2 separate regions of the Homo sapiens genome follow, and region 1 is linked to region 2. Evidence: promoter capture Hi-C in human tissues and cell types (Jung and others, 2019). All regions are on one chromosome and are shown on one strand. The core of a region is centred on a gene start or on the middle of the fragment in contact, and the rest is flanking DNA. Distances in the headings are between cores, read along the strand shown.

The links. The method cuts DNA at HindIII sites, captures the fragments that hold promoters and counts their contacts. A contact is called where the count stands out against the background at its distance.
Region 1: a fragment that was not itself captured here is called in contact with the fragment with the promoter of CCDC116 in region 2 in 1 of the 25 tissues and cell types used here (dorsolateral prefrontal cortex).

What each region holds. Positions count from the first base shown.
Region 1 is chr22:21,996,137-22,000,308 of GRCh38, reverse strand. It overlaps the pseudogene PRAMENP. Among named protein-coding and RNA genes, the nearest start is that of TOP3B, 15 kb to the right of the region's middle. The HindIII fragment of the contact is 5,385 bases long and covers 1-4,049 here.
Region 2 is chr22:21,631,205-21,635,756 of GRCh38, reverse strand. CCDC116 (coiled-coil domain containing 116) reads right to left here and starts at 2,997. Exons shown (of 5, transcript NM_152612.3): 1 at 2,930-2,997; 2 at 2,504-2,637; 3 at 1,187-1,735; 4 at 491-1,072. The coding sequence starts at 2,575. RefSeq lists an enhancer at 2,766-3,265. The HindIII fragment of the contact is 5,816 bases long and covers 1-3,347 here.

The DNA of each region.
Region 1 (4,172 bases), core at 108-2,607, 370 kb before region 2:
GTTCAAGTGATTCTCCTGTCTCAGCCTCTCGAGTAGCTGGGATTACAGGCATGCACCACCATGCATGGCTAATTTTTTCTTTTTTGTATATTTAGTAGAGACAGGGTTTCACCATGTTGGCCAGACTGGTCTCAAACTGATCTCAGGTGATCCAGCCACCTCAGCCTCCCAAAGTGCTGGATTACAGGCATGAGCCACCACGCCCAGCCAGTTTGAATTAATTTCACATTAGTATCTCTTCAATAGTCTTCTCTTAGTTTTGTTTTTGTTATTTCTTCTAGATTAAAGTCATAATTAGACATTATTTAAAATGTCCTAACTATAACAATATTTATATCTTTTCAATATTTGCTCTCCTCATCCATTTACATCTTTCCATTTATTAATTTTACTCCATTACATTAATTTTTTAATTCTTAATACTGTTTTCACATTTATTGTCATCCCTAGATGACAGAAAAAAGTGAGTGAATAGTTTATTTCATACATCTACATTACTTCTGCCATTATACATTTACAGCTCAGTTCTTGCTGGAAATACTGGGCACTCTTGTGCAGTCACATCAGCAGAAATACTCCTATTAATTATATTAACTGTTTCCTATTTTATCCTTTTTAGCTTCCAATTGTTAAAAGATAATTTTCAGAAAAGTAGAATTGTGACTTTATACAGATATAGAAATGAACATGTATTAAAGAATTTATTTTACTCATATAATATGAAGTACCAGGCAGATGTTAAAGAAGAGTTAAGACAGCACATATTTATATGACATGAAGGGATGTTGAGATGAATTTCAGATGGAGACAAAATTTTCCACAGGTAGAAGTTAGGAGAAAATCATTACCAGACCAGACAGAATTTATATGTCTATCAGTTACCTACAACTTATAAAGTTAAAAAATAGCTCAAAGATAATGAACAGGACTCAAATCTGATAACCCAGAAGGGTACATTACAGAGGATCCATTGCTTTCCACTGTAGAGGAGAAAAAATCATAGCTTTTCCTCACCCATCTCAAGGGTCTTTGCTGATACCCCTATTTTAAAAAGGCAGATTAACAAGAGGACACCATAACAAATGTATCAAAGTTTTGCGTGATACAGGAACCTTCAGAAATGAAGACTCAAAGACCCAGGGAGAACTGTAGTTCTTAATTTAAAATTTTTTTTAGAGACTGGGATCTTACTGTATTGCCCAGACCGGCCTTGAATTCCTGGGCTCAAGCAGTCCTCCTGCCTCAGCCTCCCAAGTACCTGGGATTACAGGTGCATGTCACTGCACCTGACTATCTGTATATATGTATGCTTAGGTTTGATGAAGGATGGACAGTCATGTACAAGTATGATTGGACAAAAAACCTGTGGTCTAATGGTAATAAGCTGGGGAGAACTTAGCAAGGCCTGTTCATTCAGATTCTTCTTGGCCCCTCTGTGTAGCATTTCTTTCCTCCTGGTAATAGGACAGGACACCTGTCACATGGGGTGGAGGTCTCACTGCCTACTTTCAGGAAAGGAAGGTCAAAGAATTCCTTTATGACTAGCTCTCACACAGAAAGGCAGGGAAAAGTCAGAGAGACACCTTCAAAGTTCCGTATTTCGGGGTGACATTCTGAGCCGCAACACCATTTTTTCCTACACTATGTACATAATCGTTTGCCTCTTTTTATTGCCCTAGACAACCCTATTGTTATGTGTCTTACTGCACCGGCTACAACTTTCCCAAACAATGTTGATAGTGTGCATGCTTGTTTCTAATTCAGACATCAACAAAAATACCCATGATACAGCTCCTCTCTTTCCCTCTCTCTTTCTTTCTCTGTCTCTCTCTGTCTCTCTGTCTTTCTCTCTCTCTCTCTCTCTCACACACACACACACACACATATATTATATATATATGTTTATATATAGAGAGAGAAAAAAATTTTGATTAGTCATGGAGAAATAATGATAAGACAAAAGAAGTATGAGAGTATGAGCCAAGTGTAATAAAATGGCGGAACAGCGGGCCTGTGTGTTCAGATCCCTCTTGGCAAGCGTTCATCTTTGGAAATAAGGATATGCCTTTCCTTCCTGTATAGGGGGAGTACCTCTCACAGGAGGGTCTTATACCTACTACAGGGGAAGGTCAGAAAATCCTGCCTGCCCATGCCATTTCTCAAATTCCTTCAGCTTAAAATATTCAGTATGCCAAGTTGCTGTATTTTGGGAAGGCACATCCTAAACTCCATCAAAGTCCTGCTAGAAGCAGATACCAAGATGGAAAAACATCCAAGGATTTTTACTAGGGGAGCCCCCTATGAGGGGCATTGAGGGGTGAGCGGGAAGGCATGGAGACCCCACTGACCTACATCGCTGTGTTTGGTGAAGCAGAACTGGAGGGAAGGTTGGGTGGAAACGTGTGCACTCAGGAAGATTTAGCAAAGCTATCAGGGAGTCCTGAAGCCAAAGGTGGTTGTCAGAGGAGTGATGTCTCCCAGGAACTAGTCTGTCACATTGTCTCCCAGGAACTGATCTGTCCCCAGTCATTGTTGGTGAGCAGCATGTGGTGGTGTGACTTGGGCCTTAAGGCTGCCAGGGATTCCTAAGGGCAGTGGGTGGGGCCCTTGGTTCAGGTGCATTTCCTGAGTTGGAGGTGCAGGGCACACTCTCATGGTGGCCACACCATCTTCATCTTGTTTCTAACTTTAAAAGCAATGTTGGCTGGGCGCGGTGGCTCACGCCTGTAATCCCAACACTTTGGGAGGCCAAGGCGGGTGGATCACGAGGTCAGGAGATCAAGACCATCCTGGCTAACATGGTGAAACCCCGTCTCTACTAAAAATACAAAAAATTAGCCGGGCGTGGTGGCGGGCACCTGTAGTCCCAGCTACTCGGGAGACTGAGGCAGGAGAATGGCGTGAACCCAGGAGGTGGAGCTTGCAGTAAGCCAAGATTGTGCCACTGCACTCCAGCCTAGGCGACAGGCAAGACTCCGTCTCAAAAAAAAAAAGCAATGTTTATAAAACACCACTACTAAATATCAGGTTCAGAACCTTGCCTTCTATTTCTTCTTTGATTTTCTCAAATGCATTGACATTAATAATTAATAAACCTAACATTAACCATTCTTGCTCAATCGTTCTTGATCACTATTTGTAAGAGATATTTATAGATTTAGTGTGCCAGGCGTTTGATTTGATTTGCTAGTATTTAAGCCTTTGCTAGATAGCTTCCTATGTATGATTGGCCAATAATTGTCCTTTCTTATACTGTCCTCTGTCCTTGCCCAGTTTGTTGCCAAGGCCGTAGTGGCCTCATACAAATAGATTTCATAGCTTGTGAGACTGTGAATGAATGTTTCTTGTCTCTGACTAGCATAGATCCTAGAACTCTGCCGTCCAGAAGTGTAGCATCTGGCTACATGAAGCTATTTAGATTGCAATTAATTAGAATTTAATTTAATTTAAAATTCAGTCCTTTAGTCATGCTAGCCACATTTCAAGTACTCAGTAGCCACATGTGGCTTGGGGCTCCCACATTAGACAGTGCAGGTCTAGAACATCCCCCTCCTTGCACAAAGCCCTGCTCTGTGGTGGACCGTGGAAAGTGATGGGATGGGGCTACACTCCCGCATTTCACTGGGCAGAAAAAAAAGAGGAATTTGGGCAGTTGAAAGAATCCATAACTAACCTGAACCTGATGCTCTGTGAGAGCATAGAAAAAAAACCTCCATTCCACATTACCCTCAACTCCATCAGTGGGATTGTGGTAAGCGTGTATTGTGCAAACTTGCTCTTGAAATGCATTTAAAATATATCCTGCTTGTCTGGTGTATGTCAGGAACTATGTTTATCACTCAGACTACAGCAGTAATGAAAGCAGACACAGCCCCTTTTTTCATGGAGCTTATAATTTAGCAGAGGGGAGACAGATAATATACGACTGTGTGCATTTATGTGCACACGCATGTGTGTGTCTGCGTATGTGTATGTGTATAAGAGAGACAGAAACAGAAAACTGGTGATATAAGAAGTGCTGTAAATCAGATTAGGAAAGATAAAGCTGTAATTAAGGGATGGGAGTGCTATTCTACTTGGGTGGTCAGGGAAGGCCTCTCATGTGAAATTTTAACAGAAACCTGAATGAAGTAAGGGGGCCAGCCATGAGGATATTTGGGAGAAGACACTTC
Region 2 (4,552 bases), core at 1,748-4,247:
AATAGCTAGGCCAGGATTCATGGGCCCCCATCAGCTTGACCCCTGCCCAGGAGGTTTCCACAGTGCAGGGCAAGAGACCTTGACCTTGAGCACCTGTTAGTGACAGTGGCTGCTAGGAGTGGTGGGTCAAGGAGCCCTTCTCCTGCAAACTCATGCCCGGTCCTACTTTTGAGGAGGTCACCTCTGGACACAGTGAGGCGGGAGATGAAGAGGCAACTGGAGAGAGCTCAGGGAGAAGGTAGCAGGAAGAGCGGGGGTAGGGGGAGGAAAGTGGAGGTGTGACAGGGCCCCTGAGGTGGCCCTGGCTGCAGGCCACCTCCACCACAATCCCTGGCGTGGGCAGGGTGAGGTGCAGGCCCTGCCAGGGCTGGGCCCTCTGGCTGGAGCTCAGGGAAACAGGTGGGTTTTGTAATTTGGGATCTGAGTCAGGTGCCTCCTCCCTGGAGTGGAGTGAGGGGCTGGGGACATTGGGCTTCTCCGTGGGTGTCACCTTGAGTTTGAATCTGGTGGCCACCTGGGCACTAGACATGGAGGGGGAGCCTCCTCTGTCCTTGCGTTTTCTCTGAAGCATCTTGGGGCTGGAGACTGTGGGGCGGGGGGAAGCATAGGGCTGCCCGCCATTGGTGGGTTTAGCTGGCTCAGAGCCCAGAGGCGGCAGATCTGAGGTGGGCTCCAAGCTGGTGGGGAACAGAGGACGGCCGTCGCGGCAGTGGGCGCCACGGAGCTTATCCACAGCCTGGCTGACCACGCTTTGCAGGGCAGGGAAGAGGCGGTGGTCAGCCAGGAAGTTCAGCGTGCGATGGGGCTCACGGAGCGGACAGTAGCCAGGCAGGTCGAGGGACTCCAGCTGGCTCAGTAATGACTTGATCTCCTTATTGAACTCTCGCTTGCGGAAGATTGGCTCCTGTTCTCCAGGCCTCGGCTCTGATGCTTCAGGCACGCCAGAGCTTGAGCCCAGCAGCCCTGAGAACCAGGACAAGGGCTGCTCCTGTGTCCACTGAAAGCTGGTCTGGCTACCCAGCGAATCCCACAGCAGGGAGTCCCTCTGGGAGCAGGACTGACTGAGGCCTTTCTGCAGAAAGAGGGTGACTCTGTGAAGTGTTCAGGAGCAGCCAAGCCAGGGCTGACCCTAGCCCTGGGCTCTCCATGGGAGTCCACCCCACCCAGCCATGGCCCTGGCTCTCACCCCTTCCCTCTCCAGCTGTAGCAGCCGCTTGAGGTTCTTCTCCAGCAGGAGTTTGTCCCTCACAGGTGGCAATGAGCCTTGGGCACCTAGGTCACTGTCCCGGCTGTGGGAGCCCAGACAGCCGGCCATGAGGCTGCTATGGCAGTTGGACATGGAGCTGGAGCTGGATGGGTAGTTGTTGGGGTGTCCAGTGCAGAGGGTCGGCCGTACACGGTGCCGGTGTACGGTGCTGAGGCTGGGCCGGGCATGTGCCCGCCGTCCACCACTTGGCACCTCCACTGGGTCCTGCACCTCCACAAGCGGCACCCCAGCCTCCGTCTTCATGGCAGCCATGCGCTCAGTCGCCTTCTCCACCACTGTCTCCAGGCTGTCCAGGACCTGGCTCTCAGTTAGGAAATCCAGAAAGTGGCCAAAGGGCTGAGGGTGCCTCTTGTTTCGGCGTTGGCCCTGGAGTGCTGAGCTGCCACATGTGGATGGTGGGTGTGGCACACGGCCCGGCTTGCAGGCTGGCCGCATTTCTGGGACCAGTGGCTTCTTGGGCAGCTGCACCTGAGCAGACAGGTATGTCACAGGGGGCAGGGGTGCCCTACAGGTGAAGGGTTCCCTGGGGTAACACTAGGACCTGGGTGGGAGTGAGTAGTGGAAGGAGCTGCATTTTGGAGTCTGGAAGCCCTGGGTTTGGACCCTGGCTCTGCCACCTACAGCCTGATGCCAGTGTGCAAGATGGCCCCTCTTGAGGTCCAATGTCCTCATCTGCAAAGTGGAGGTCTATTCAGGGTCACCCCGAAGCTTTCCTAACACCTACATTTCACACACACAAGTCCTGGCTAAGGAGTCTGCAAGCCTGCTTCTGCCCTGACACGTGGCAGGATGAGCAATCATGAATCTCTCGGAGTCTCCCTCCAGCTCCTCATCTGTCCATGCAGCAGGCCATCCCTGTATCCATGGCAGGGCTGCAAACAACATCTGAGGTCTTGAGTGCAGACAACACCTGAGGTCTTGAGCCCTGTGCTACCCGGGCCTGTTTCTCCAACTTGAGCCATAGGCACCTAGTCAACTCCATGCTCCCACTCTAGGGTCCCAGTCCACCCAAGCACCTTCTGGGTCGCTGGAAGTCAGGAGGAAACAAGGAATGAAATTGAGTGTGACAGGGGCAAGCAGTGGGGGACATAGGAGAAGTCAAGGCAATAAGGACTTCACTAAGAGGCCCAGAGAAGTCAATAGACAATGAGAAATGGGGGTTGTGGTCTTGGGTGCCAGGGTTGGTGGGGAACATGTTGTGGCCTCAAGGGTCGGCGCCCTGCTGGGCACACTTACCCGTGCACTGCACATGGAGTGGCTGGCCTCGTCATCGGCCAGGTAACCCGAGTGGTGGCGGCACCTGGCCATGTGGTCACCTGGCAGGTGACCGGGCCTGCTGCCCACCTCTCTCTTCAGCTGCGCATTCCTCTCTGCGTGGGGTGGGGAGACAACCTGAGGGTCTCCAATAGGTCCACGCATCTGTGGCCCTGGAGTCTGCGGGTCCCTCGCTCCCCGCACCCCGCCTCCTTCATGCATCCAGCCCTTCCTCTGCTCCATGGCCCCCATGCGTCTGCAGGCAGGCAGTTTCCAGAGTCATCGGGGTGGAATCGCTGAGGACAATCCTGTCTCCGATCATCTTTGGATCTGCGTGTGCTCGACCCGCCCTCCTCCCAAACCCTGGGCAACCTGGCTTTCACCCCAGCCCAGAATCAACAGACTCACCAGAAACACCGCCTTGCTCCGCACAGGCCAGTACAGTCTGCGCCCTCACTGGAGCAGCTGCACAGTGCGAGGAAGTCGGCTGGCGGCCTCCACTTGCTTATTTGCATACCACATCCTCATTGGTTCTTACCGAGGAGCTCGTCCACTTCCCTCTCCGACACAATGGTTGGGGGCGGGGCCCACATTGGCCCCACCTCCAATTCTCTGGGCTCTGCCCTCCCACACTCGCCTGGGAGCCGCAGGCTGAGGATGCTGGTGCCCACGCTCCCCGCTGCCGGGAGGACCCCCCACCCACCACCGAAGCTGGGGCTAGGCTCTTTGATCTGCTCCTGCCCCGAGGGGAGCCTAAAAGCCAAAGCCACGTCTTCCACCGGTGGCACAAGCACCTTCCTCGTGTCCTCCTTGGTTGCTGCGCAGCCCTGGGCCTCCTGCTCCTGTTCGTTTCCAGGGGCCTCTGCCCTTCCCGCGGTGTGCACAGCCCCAGGTTCTGCCTTGAGACCTCTCCCCTCTGCAGTGGAAAGAGTGCCGGCTCTAAGTCACAGACCTAGCTTCAGTTCCTGGCTCTGCTCTTTCCTGCCAATGTGACTCAACCTCTCAGCATTAGTCCCACACTGTAAATGGGCTTGAGTGTTCTTCCAATATGGGAGTATGGGATTCAATAAAATCTCCCTACAGCACACCCAGTAACCCAGTGGAGCCTTGTGTATTCTTTAATTAATTAATTTATTTATTTGGAGACGGGAGTCTCGCTCAGTCGCCCAGGCTGGAGTGCAGTGGCGCAATCTCGGCTGACTGCAAGCTCCGCCTCCCGTGTTCACGCCATTCTCCTGCCTCAGCCTCCCGAGCAGCTGGGATTACAGGGGCCCGCCACCACGCCCGGCTAATTTTTTTGTAGTTTTAGTAGAGATGGGGTTTCACCGTGTTAGCTAGGATGGTCTCGATTCCCTGATCTTGTGATCCGCCTGCCTTGGCCTCCCAAAGTGCTGGGATTACAGACCTGAGCCACCGCGCCCAGCGGAGCCTTGTATATTCTTACCTCCTCTCCCTCCCTCCTTTTCCCCTTTGCTCAGTAATACCCCACCATGGTGTCACTTCTTCCAAAAACCTTTTACTGTGAATTCTGCCACGCCCTACGCAATTCACAGTAAACCCCATTCCAGACTCTACCATACCATGTTGCTACTTATTTTTCTATCAGATGGTGCTTCTTTGGGGCCAGAACAGAGGCAAGTCACCCTTAATCTCTAATACTTTCAGTGTCTGGCACCAAGTAGGTGCTCAATAAATGTCAGTCTCCTCCTTCCCACCTGCAGACCCTCGGGACCTCTGACCTTTCCAAGATCAGCTTCCAGTGGAGAACGGTGGTTGGTTGAGGTCTGACAATTCACCAGTCACTATAAACACATCAGTCCTTATGCCAAGAGCATGGCTGAAGGACTCTATGAGGCTTTCAATCCTCACATGCCTCACGAAATATTGTTCCTCTCAAGCTCTGCTCTGTCCTCTCAGCTCTGGCTACCCACTAGGTCAGGGACAGAGAGGACATAGCAGGCCTGGGTGCTGGCCCCGAGGTGTGAGGTTCAGTCTTAGCTCCACTACTCCTGGCAGGACCACACTTTCGCT